Regions from separate parts of the Homo sapiens genome. Here region 1 is linked to region 2. Evidence: promoter capture Hi-C in human tissues and cell types (Jung and others, 2019). All regions are on one chromosome and are shown on one strand. The core of a region is centred on a gene start or on the middle of the fragment in contact, and the rest is flanking DNA. Distances in the headings are between cores, read along the strand shown.

Evidence for each region. Contacts are between HindIII fragments. The study calls those that stand out against the background at their distance.
Region 1: a fragment that was not itself captured here is called in contact with the fragment with the promoter of SLC19A3 in region 2 in 5 of the 25 tissues and cell types used here (H1 embryonic stem cells, heart left ventricle, mesendoderm cells and 2 more).

The regions. Positions count from the first base shown.
Region 1 is chr2:227,625,686-227,631,191 of GRCh38, reverse strand. It overlaps the pseudogene SLC19A4P. Among named protein-coding and RNA genes, the nearest start is that of SCYGR4, 11 kb to the right of the region's middle. The HindIII fragment of the contact is 5,663 bases long and covers 1-4,709 here.
Region 2 is chr2:227,715,673-227,721,744 of GRCh38, reverse strand. SLC19A3 (solute carrier family 19 member 3) reads left to right here and starts at 3,717. Exons shown (of 6, transcript NM_025243.4): 1 at 3,717-3,802. RefSeq lists an enhancer at 3,300-4,186. The HindIII fragment of the contact is 9,813 bases long and covers 984-6,072 here.

The sequences.
Region 1 (5,506 bases), core at 629-3,128, 89 kb after region 2:
TCAAGCTTTACCTTTTGTATCCCCTGATACTTCAATGTTTCCGAATCCTTTTACCTTCTTGACCAAGAGGAATAGATTTAAGTCACTCCTTTAAAATCTTTGTATTGCTACCGTATCTTCTCTGCTAGTCTCTGCTGACATCCTCAATGCTGGAACAACTTTCAATTCGGTTCTTCCATGGAAAGCTATTTTAAAGTTTAATTGCTAAAGAAGAGACCAGTTTACCCAGGTACAGAGCAGGATGAGCAAAAACATACAGCTCAAAGGCATAACAGAAGACAAACCCTATTCCTATATACAAAGAAAAAAAGGTGTTATTATGAATGGCTGGTCTTGAAAACTGTGCTTCTTAAAAATTGATTTTTGGTAGGAATCTAATTAAATATGCTTTCATTAAGTTTTTAAGAGCCAGTAATATGGAAGTGCATTGATTAGTAACTCCCAAATCTCAATCATAAATGTCCATTCATCATTGACTCTGTCTGCACTCATGATATTCCACTAATAGGATGCCAAATGCCATTTTTAAAAATTGGAATCTAAAAAGTAGAAAATACAAACTGAATCAGGATTTTTCTCTGACACAGAGATTCAGCAAAGAGTAGGATGCATCGAGACTTCCAGAAGCGATTCCTTCATTTTCCCAGCATCTCTCAAACTGCTGTCACAACATAAGCTATTTATGGAGTTTCAAAGGTCTTAATGGATTTATGAAGATCTTAAAAAGGGGCTTCAAGACACATCTTTGAAGATGACTGAAAGATTAGGGGAAGAGGCCCATGAGGAAAGCTAAAAGAAGCATTTTTATCTCAACTAGAAAAAGCTGAAGAGTAATTTAGTAATAATCACCAAGCCGGTTATGGAGAGAGTGGTAGATATAATTGTCTTTACTGAAGGCACAAGACTGTACTGTGGTTGACTAATGATATAAAATGATTTTCTGGCAGAATCTTGTTTCCAAAAATAGATGAAATTCACAAGTTTGAATATAAGAGGGATTTGGAGGGGGTGGGTAAATAACCATACAACATCTCAAATAAGGTTAATTTTTTAAAATAAGCCTTTAATTAGGTAAATGAAGTAATAACACCCCACAAGTTTTGCACCAGAACACCCACCTCTTGGTTACCTGTTACCAGACCTCTTCATCCCTCTCATCGCCCCCCACTTCCCCACTTTCACCCCCCAATTTGCAGCGATAACTTTTGGAATGAGAAACAGACTGAGTAAGTGCCCATTTCTTCTTGATCAAGGGAGTTGACAGTAAGACTCCTCCGTCATTCACTAATTTCTTTGCCTTCACCCTCCTCCTCCCTGGATGGTCTTGAGGCTTAAGACATGAAAAGCAACTCTTATCACCAAGTTTGGGGAGTACACACAAAAAAGAAAAGGGAAAGTCCAGTGGCGCCAAGTGCCCCTTTGATATCACAGAAACCGCAGCTGCTGTGCTCCTCTGCCTTCATTTTCCTCACTGGGAAATAACGCAGTGACCCTGCCCAGTGCTCACAGCCAGCAGCCGTTGCACTCAGCCACTCTGGGACCAGCTGATGGCCTCTGATTGCACCCTCCATTAGATTAACCAGCTAGGATAACTGGTACTTTAATCTACCTTTAATTAAATAAAAGTTAGAATCATGAAAATGGAATTTTAGTTGTAACCCCAAAGGGATTAGTAAGGAGAGGGGCACTCTGCGTAGAAAGATTACCTCCCGAAACGTCAAACACAGTGATGATATTATTTTAAGTGCATGAAATGGGGATTCGTCTGGATTTGGAATAGGCTCACATACATCAAAATGGATATTTTTCAGTGTGTGTGGAGTATGTGCTATTTGACATTCCAGATAGCCCAGATGAGTGTTCTCACTTCATATTCATGGACTCAAATGCAGGTTGTGTGTGGTCCATCAGGCTTAGGTTCCACTATTTCATAAACTATTTTTTGGTGTCTTAACTCAAAGGACAGCTGAAGTCAAAGGCCAGATTTTCTTTCTTTTCTTTTCTTTTCTTTTTTGAAACAGTCTTGCTTTGTCGCCTAGGCTGGAGTGCAATCTCGGCTCACTGCCACCTCCACCTCCCGAGTAGCTGGGATTACAGGCACATGCAACCACACCCGGCTAATTTTTGTATTTTTAGTAGAGGCAGGGTTTCGCCATGTTGGCCAGGCTGGTCTCGAACTCCTGACCTCAGGTGATACACCCACCTCGGCCTCCCAAAGTGCTCCAATTATAGGCATGAGCCATCGTACGTGGCCCACATTTTCATTATCAAACAAAATAAACTCCTTAAAAGGATTTTGAGTGAGTTTGGGTCCTGATCATTTAGACGTTGCCTTGTTTTCTTACTTTTCTATCCTAATGGAGATGGTCTCCATGCAATTACCTTAGGAGGAATGGGATTGAGGGGTTGAGCTTAAAGGAGAAAGGGGTGCCATGGCTGGAATACGACACCAAATCTCGTGCTGAGGCTTGGTCCCTAATGTGGCAGTGTTGAGAATTGGTGTCTTTAAGAGGTGATTAGGTCATTCAAGAGGGATCGATGCCTTTCTCCTGAAAGTAAGCTCTTGCCTGCTTGGGAATGGATTAGTTACCACTCGAGTGAATTGTTATAAGCAAGGCTGCCTCTCATGTTTGGTCTCTAAACATGCGCTTCCCCTTCCTTCTCCACCATGTTATGACAGCACAAAGCAAAGCCCTCGCCAAAAGCCAGCCAGATGCTGCCACCTGATCTTGGACCTCCCAGCTTCCAGAACTGTGAGCTAAATAAGCTTCTTTTTTAAACAAATGTTTTAGTCTCAGGTATTCTCAGTCAACAGAAAATGGACTAAGATGGGGACTTTAGGGTTGTTTGAAATTTAAACAAATTTCAGTAAATGTTTTTAAATTTTTTTATTAAGAAAAGCTTATTTATTAAAGGCAACAGACTTTTTAAAAAATATTAAAGTAAGAAAGGCTTACTTTCATTAGGCAACAACAGACTGGATATCAGAAAAATCTTTACACCACAAAACCCTTGGATTTCGTGGATATAAATTTAATTAAAAAAAAATAAACGGCTAAACTGGTAAGAAAGTAAGAAAAATCCTCAGATGCCAAAGCAAGAACAGGAAGCCAGATAGCTAAGGAAGCATTGACTCTGCGGTGTGCTCAAGGCATCTGCTGGTTCCCCCAGAACCTAGAGTTTTGGTTTTAGTGACAACCCCAAAGGGCCACATCCTCAGTGAATGGTGAATCAGAACAAAATACAAAATGACAGGGGGAAAATCCCTAATGAAGAAGACTAATCTGGGTGGAGTCTGGAGAATATACCCTCAGCATTTGCCTTTATAAACCAGCACTTACGTAATTCTGGAGTCCTATTCCTATAGGCTAAACTTTTTTTTTCAAGCTGAAAATTTAGTTTAAAGTGGTCCTGATTGGCAGTGTCTCCAGGCACCTATATGTAACAAAGGCAAATGGTTTCTGAAAGAATGTACCTCAATACAGGAATCAAAATATTGCCACAAATAAAATTCCATCGAATAGGAGATTATGATTTTTAAAAATTCAGAATCAAACAAGGATATAAAGTTTCATGAACAAGCCAACTGAAGTAATAAATAGCGAAATCAGACTAACAAAGATTTGACGTAGAAGAATTATCAGTATTAGAATATAAAATAAAATGTTTAATATGTTTACACATGGAGGAAAATAACATCATAAGAATAGAACAAGGTACATAAATAGAACATCATAAGAATAGAACAAAATAATCATGAATTTGGGGAAAAAATAGAACTACAGTCATGGGAAGCATAACTATGTTTCGGTTAATGATGGACCATGTGTATCAGCAGTCCCCACCCTTTTTGACACCAGGGACTGGTTTTGTGGAAGACAATTTTTCCACAAACCAGGGCAGGGGGATGGTTTCAGGATGGTTTCAAGTGCATTATATTTTTGTACATTTTATTTCTATTATTATTGCATTGTAATATATAATGAAGTAATTATACAACTCACCATAATGTAGAATCGGTGGGAGCCCTGAGTTTGTTTTCCTGGGAGACAGTGACAGATCATAAGGCATTAGATTCTCATAAGGAGTGCACAACCTAGATCCCTCGCATGCACAGTTCACAATAGGGTTCCCGCTCCTATGAGAATTTCATGCCATCACTAATCTGACAGGAAGCAGAGCTCAGGCAGTAATGTGAGCAATGGGGAGTGGCTGTAAATACAGATGAAGCTTCTCTTGCACACCTGCCACTCACCTCCTGGTGGTGGCTTGGTTCCTAACAGGCCATGGACCCTGGTACAGGCCCTTGGACTGGAGGTTGAGAACCCCTGGCATATAGGACAGTGGTCCCATAAGATTGTAGTGGAACTGAAAAATCCCTACCACCCAGTGACATCATAGCCATCGTGATGTTGTATCACAAAGCATTACTCATGAGTTTGTGGTGATGCCGGTGTAAACAAACCTACTGCACTGCCAGTCTTATAAAAGTCTAGCACATGCAATTACGTACAGTATATAATACTTGATAATTATAATAAATGGCCAGGTGCGGTGGCTCACGCCTGTAAACCCAACACTTTGGGAGGCCGAGGCGGGCAGATCACCGGAGGTCAGGAGTTTGAGACCAGCATGGCCAATGTGGTGAAACCCTGTCACTACTAAAAAAAAATAATACAAAACTTAGCCGGCCATGGTGGCAGGTGCCTGTAATCCCAGCTACTCAGAGGCTGAGGCAGGAGAATCACTTGAACCTGGGAGGTGGAGGTTGCAGTGAGTCGAGATCGCACCACTGCACTCCAGCCTGGGTGATGGATCAAGACCCTGAAAGAGCAACTTCCAGCCCTGAAGCTCCACTCATGTAAGTGCCCTATATGGGTGTACCATGTTTTATCTCTTATGTGTATTTTTACTGTATCTTTTCTATGTGTAAATACGTTTAGATACACAAATGCTTACCATTGTGTTACAATTGTCTACAGCATTCAGTACAGTAACATGCTGTACAAGTTTACAGCCTAGGAACAATAGGCTATGCCATTTAGCCTAAGTATGTAGTATGCTATGCCATCTAGGTTTGTATAAGTATACCATATGATGTTTGCACAATGACAAAATCACCTGGCAATGCATTTCTCAAGAAATATCCCTGTTATTAAGGATGCATTACTGTAGTCAAGAATAGAAGCTTAATAAACAAGTTAAGAGCTATGTAGAAGTTAAGAGCAATAAAGAAGAAAATATTAAACTGTAAGAACTCATTTAGAATATAGCACAGAGATGAAAGTGGAAAAAATTAACACACATGGAGGTTAGAGTGAGAAAGTTTCACGAATGTCTATTTGACGTTCCTTGGGGAGATAATAAGATAGAAGTGAGAGACAGACAAAGAAATATCCATGGAGAATTTTGCAGATGAGATGAAAGGCATGAATTAGATTTAGGAAGCCTAACAGCTCTCCAAAAGAGTAAATGAAAAGAAATTCAAGTCTAAACACACCGTAGT
Region 2 (6,072 bases), core at 2,468-4,967:
GCCAAGATAGAAATCTAAAGATAAGGCCAGGTGCGGTGGCTCACACCTATAATCCCAGCACTTTGGGAGATCGAGGCGGGCAGATCACCTGAGGTCAGGAGTTTGAGACTAGCCTGACTAACATGGTGAAACCCTGTCTCTACTAAAAATACAAAAATTAGCTGGCCGTAGTGGCAGGTGCGTGTAATCCCAGCTACTCGGGAGGCTGAGGCAGGAGAATCCCCTGAACCCAGGAGGCAGAGGTTGCAGTGAGCCAAGATCGACCCATTACACTACAGCCTGGGCAACACAGTGAGACTCCATCTCAAAAAAAAAAAAAAAAAAAAACTAAACAAATATTTGCCTTCAAAGAGTTAACATTTAAGAGTGAAACAGATAAATTAGCCTACTTGCAGTAATCCTAATGTGAGATTTTCTTTGCCTGGCCACCTTTTCTCCACTCCTATATCAACTATTCAAATAGACTTTTTTTTTTTTTTTTTTTTTTTTTTGAGACAGAGTCTCACTCTGTCACCCAGGCTGGAGTGCAGTGGCGTGATCTCGGCTCACTGCAACCTCCACCTCCTGGGTTCAAGCGATTCTTCTGCCTCAGCCTCCCAAGTAGCTGGGATTACAGGGGTGTGCCGCCACGCCTGGCTAATTTTTGCATTTTTCGTAGAGATGGGGTTTCGCCATGTTGGCCAGGCTAGTCTCGAACTCCTGACCTCAGGTGATCTACTCACCTGGGATTACAGGCGTGAGCTACCATGCCTGGCCTTGTATAGGTTTTCATGGACATAATTGCAGCCACATTTTTTAGTAACAGTGCAAGAGGAAGTATAATAGGGAGGTACACAGTGTTGAGCAACTCCCTAATACACTATGGCTCCCTCTCCTACTGTTCTCATTCAGCCTCCCTGTAGGTTCTTTCCCAAGTTGGAGCTCCAAGCCTCAGGCTTAGTCATCTTCTCCATCCTCTTCTCAGTGGGATCCACGGCACTTACCACTTTCTAACACACTATAAAATTCACTAACTCATCATGTTTACTATTTATGTTCCCTCTATATACCCCATCCCAAGCTAGAATGTAAATTACAAGGCAGAGATTTTTAGCTTTGTTCACGAATGTATCCCAAGCACCTAGGACAGTGTCTGGCACATAGTTACTCAATAAATAACTTCTTAATGAACAAATGATTTTTTTTTCTTTTTTGTGTATGGGTTTATTTGAGACAGGGTCTGGCTCTGTCACTCAGGCTGGAGTGCAATGGTGTGATCTCAGCTCATTGCAACCTCCACCTCTTTAGGCTCAAGCCAATCTCCCACTTCAGCCTCCCAAGTAGCTGGGACTACAGACGCATGCTACCACGTCTGGGTAATTTTTGTATTTTTGTAGAGACAGGGTCTCACTGTGTTGCCCAGGCTGGTCTTGAACTCCTGGGCTCAAGCGATGCACCCACCTCGGCTCCCCAAAGTGCTATATTACAGGCATTAGCCACTGTGCCCAGTCAGAATAAATGATTTTAAAACAATTTTGTATTATGGAAAATAAACATATACAAAAATGGAAAATAGTGCAATCAGTTTCTAAGAACTACTGCCCAAGTCAACAATAATCAACACACAGCCAATCTTTTGTCATCTATGACCCCATCCACAGCCTTCTCCCCACACAGTCGTATGGGATCAAACTCAAATGTCATGTCATGTAATCTGCAAATGTGTCATTTATGTTTCTATGCATGAATGAATGAATTCCTCAATATCTCTCTCTGATTTAGACTGTGGCTATGAGATATTAGAGAATCAGAGTAAACTTCTCAAGGTCCAATTTGAACTCATTTTCTTCAAGAGGTGTGAAGGAAATCATGACACCTTCAGCCTTTAAGAAAATTTCACAATATTCTTTGGGAGGACCCAGCAATTTGCAAGGTTGCACAATGAGCAGGGCACTCCTACACCTAAGGTTCAGCTCAGGACTTTTCACAAATCATAGGAAGATGAAAATAGAAAACGCAGAGTCGTAGGACAGAGAACCAAGACACCTCGGGGTGTTTTAATCCATTTCACTTCCACTGGTAGCCCTTAGAAGCCACGCAGTGTTTATCTTTAGGGAGGGTTTTTCAAGTCCACCAAGAGATGAACAGAAATAAAAATATTTTTTCCATTTTAACCAATAAGAACCTTGTAATGCTTTAAAAAAATTCTCTGTTTAATAAGAAGTTTCACTTTAATATATAAACTCTTTGCAGGCTAAGCGTAGTGGCTCATGCCTGTAATCCCAACACTTTGGGCGGGCAAGGCAGGAGGATCCTTTGAGCCCAGGAGTTCAAGACCAGCCTGGGCAAGATAGTGAGACTCTGTCTCTACCAAAAAAAAAAAACAAAAAAATTAATGTGACGTGGTGGCACCCACCTGCAAGCCCAGCTACTTGGGAGGCTGAGGCAGGAGGATCAGTGTGCCTGGGAGATTGAGGTTGCAGTGAGCTGGGGTTGCACCACTGCACTCCAGCCTGGGAGATAAAGTGAGACTTTGTCAAAAAAAAAAAAAAAAGAAAGAAAGAAAGAGAAAAGAAAAGAAAAGAGGCCAGGTGGCCGGGTGCTGTGGCTCACACCTGTAATCCTAGCACTTTGGGAGGCCGAGGCGGGTGGATCACCTGAGGTCAGGAGTTTGAGACCAGCCTGGACAACATGGTGAAACCCCATCTCTACTAAAAATACAAAAATTAGCTGGGTGTGGTGACGGGCGCCTGTAATCCCAGCTACTAGGGAGGCTGAGGCAGAAGAATTGCTGGAACCCGGGAGGTGGAGGTTGCAGTGAGCCAAGATCGTGCCATTGCACTCCAGCCCGGGGCCAACAACAGCGAGGCTCCATCTCAAAAAAAAAAAGAAAGAAAGAAAGAAAGAAAAAAGACCAGGCGCGGTGGCTCACGCCTGTAATCTCAGCACTTTGAGAGGCCGAGGCAGGCGGATCACGAGGCCAGGAGTTCGAGATGAGCCTGGCCAATATGGTGAAACCAAACCCCGTCTCTACTAAAAACACAAAAATTAACTGGGCGTTAATTTTTGGAGGCTGAGGCAGGAGAATCGCTTGAACCCGGGAGGCGGAGGGTTGTAGTGAGCCGAGATCGCGCCACTGCACTCCATCCTGGGCGACAGAGGGAGACTCTGTCTCAAAAAAAAAAAAAAGAAAGAAAGAAAAGAGAAAAGAAAAGAAAAAGAAGAAGAAAAGAAAAAATTGTTTGTATCAGATTTTCAAAGTGCCAGGAAACCATCCCACTCTACCTCCTTTAAAAAAAAAAAGTGCAGAGTGATTATAACCACTGGCTCTGGAGCCAGGAGCCCCAACTAAAACCCAGGCTTCTCTATTTACTAGGCCTACTTCCTTCCGCCTCACTTTCTTCATGTGTAGAGTGGGGGTGACAGCCAGCCAGCCCTCTCTCCTAAGCTTTTGGAGAGAAATAAATGGATTCATAAGAAAGGACATATTTGTAAATAAAGCAAACGATCGCTGTTGGATTCAGGCCCTCTTGCTTCATTATGCTGAATGTCAGTGTATTACTTAAGTTGTTCCTTTCAGCAGAGTTGACTGTTTCTGCCCAGAAAACCGGCCCTGGGCCAGGAAAATCTGGGCTTCCACACTGGGATGAAAGGTCTGGACGCCCGGATTCGCATATGCAAAGCGTGGGGGCGTGGCCCCGGGCTCCGGGCCAGGCAGGCTCCGCCCCCTTCCCACCAAGAGCGCCTGGATCCATCCGACAGCCGCGGGTGCGTGGTCGTGCGGCAAGTGAGCGATTTGGTGAACAGACACTCCCTTCTGTAGGTAAGAATATCTCGGGGGGCGAATTAATTGAAGAAGCACCGTCATCCCTCGGTCTTAGCAGTGTCGCCTCTCTCTTCCCGGGTTTGGAGAGCTGGGGGCGGGTTCCTGGCTCTGCGGGCCTGGGCTACACTCTGAGCCGCGTGAGGAGCTCTCCCCCTACGCCGCAGCCCGCGTGCTGGGATTCACCCAAGTGGGTTTGTCTGGAATTCCCATTTGCAGCCTTCTGGAAGCGCAGATTAAATAAAATCATGATTCCCGTAAAGTGCCAGCACCTCCTATGGTTACATCCCACGTTCACAGATTTTAACTGAAAAGGCATTTTAGCATAGAATTCCAAATTCCAATCCAAGGATGGAGAAAAGGTCCTTCCTAGTGGGAAAAAGGAAGGTGAGTTTGAATTTAAGAGAGCAGGGGCTTTTTTGGGAACCACTTGAAATTTAGTTAATTGAAACTAAAAGAAAACGCAACTACACCTTACAAAAACACTGCTGGAAAGGATACCTAAGTCATCAAATAATAAATAGTGTGACAGCTGTTTACCAAATCAATGTCGCTGCCGCAAATGTGCAAAAGGTTGGGACTTTCGGAGTGCTTCAAGTTTGAAAAAGGTAAAGGAATAATGTTTTCTAAAAGTACTCTCAGGCCAGGCGCAGTGGCTCACGCCTGTAATCCCAGCACTTTGGGAGGCTGAGCGGGGCGGATTGCTTGAGGTCAGGAATTCGAGACCAGCTTGGCCCTGGGATGAAACCCCGTCTCTACTAAAAAGGCAAAAATTAGCCGGGCATGGTGGCGGGTGCCTGTAATCCCAGCTACACTGGAGGCTGAGGCTGAAGAATGGCTTGAACTTGGGAGGCGAAGGTTGCAGTGAGCCAAGATTGCACCACTGCACTCCAGCCTGGGCGACCCAGCAAGATTCTGCCTCAAAAAAAAAAAAAAAAAAAAAAAAAAAGCACTCTCATGTGTTTTGCTCCTATCAATATTGAAACATTGGTGTCTCCTGTGGCAAAAGGTGTTTTTTTCATCGAGGCACATATATTAAATAGACCAAAACATAACTTCCCAAATATCTTATAAGATTATCCTAGTAGTAGCTGAAATGGACAAAAATACCAATTTCCTTCAGTCATTATTGCTAATAGACCAACAACACTCTTTTAAGGTTGTGTAATGGTAAATGCATACACATTTATTTAACATGCACACAGGGAGAATCAGAGTGATTGATTACCCACCCTGCAACATGTCTCAGAAGCTTATAGACTACCCTGGCAAATGAGGTTACGGGAGGGAGCCGAAGAGCATCCAGCAGAAGTGGATGGGCTTCTGCTAGGGAGCATGAATGGGTCAGGGGAGAGAATAAGCTACATTATCTTGTGAATGGGTCTGTTCAGGTGTGGGGTATATTCTTGGTCTTACAGGGAAGGGAAAAGAAACAGTTGTTCCTTTTGGTGGGTCTGGATCTTAGGCAGACAAAGGTTTTTTTGAGCTGGGAGCCGGGAAGGTCAGAGAGACCTTGAGGTCTCCAGCATGTCAAAGCCCCATATTTTGGGGTATCGGCTTCTGAGTCCCGGCACTTATTAGTGACGAAACTGATGAGTCTGTAGTAGCCAGATCAAAGAAGAACCCAAAGAATGGGTACATTCGTAGATCAGGAATATTGAATAATGAAATATAGATCAGGAATATTGAAACTGGTTTTCCATGGGGGAAAGGAAGACTGTTGTCCTTCATGGGATAAACCTTATTTGCATGTCTATAGACAATAATTACTTAACATTGCCATCAGTTGTTAAAATTTACAGAGTTGTAAAATAGCTCAAATGACCTCTAATTTTTCTTTAATCCAGTTTTTTCCCTACAACACCACCTTCTCTCAGTGCATTTAATCAGAAACTTTCACTGCATCTCAAGGATTAGATGTCAGCTGACTTTCCTTTTTTGTTTTGTTTTGTTTGGGGTTTTTGAAATTTTTTTTTTTTTTTTTTTTTTTTGAGACGGAGTCTCGCTCTTGTTGCCCAGGCTGGAGTGCAGTGGCTGGGATCTCGGCTCACCGCAGCCTTGACTTTCCCTGTTCAAGCAATCTTCCCACTTCAGTCTCCCAACTACCTGGCACTATAGGCACACACCACCATGCCTAGCTAATTTTTGTATTTTTTATAGAGGTGAGGTCTCGCTATTTTGCCCAGGCTGGGCTCAGTTGACTTTCTAAGCCGTTTTATGTTTTTCTTAGTTTTATGGTTTTCTTAGGCATATTCCTCCTGCTCTCCCTA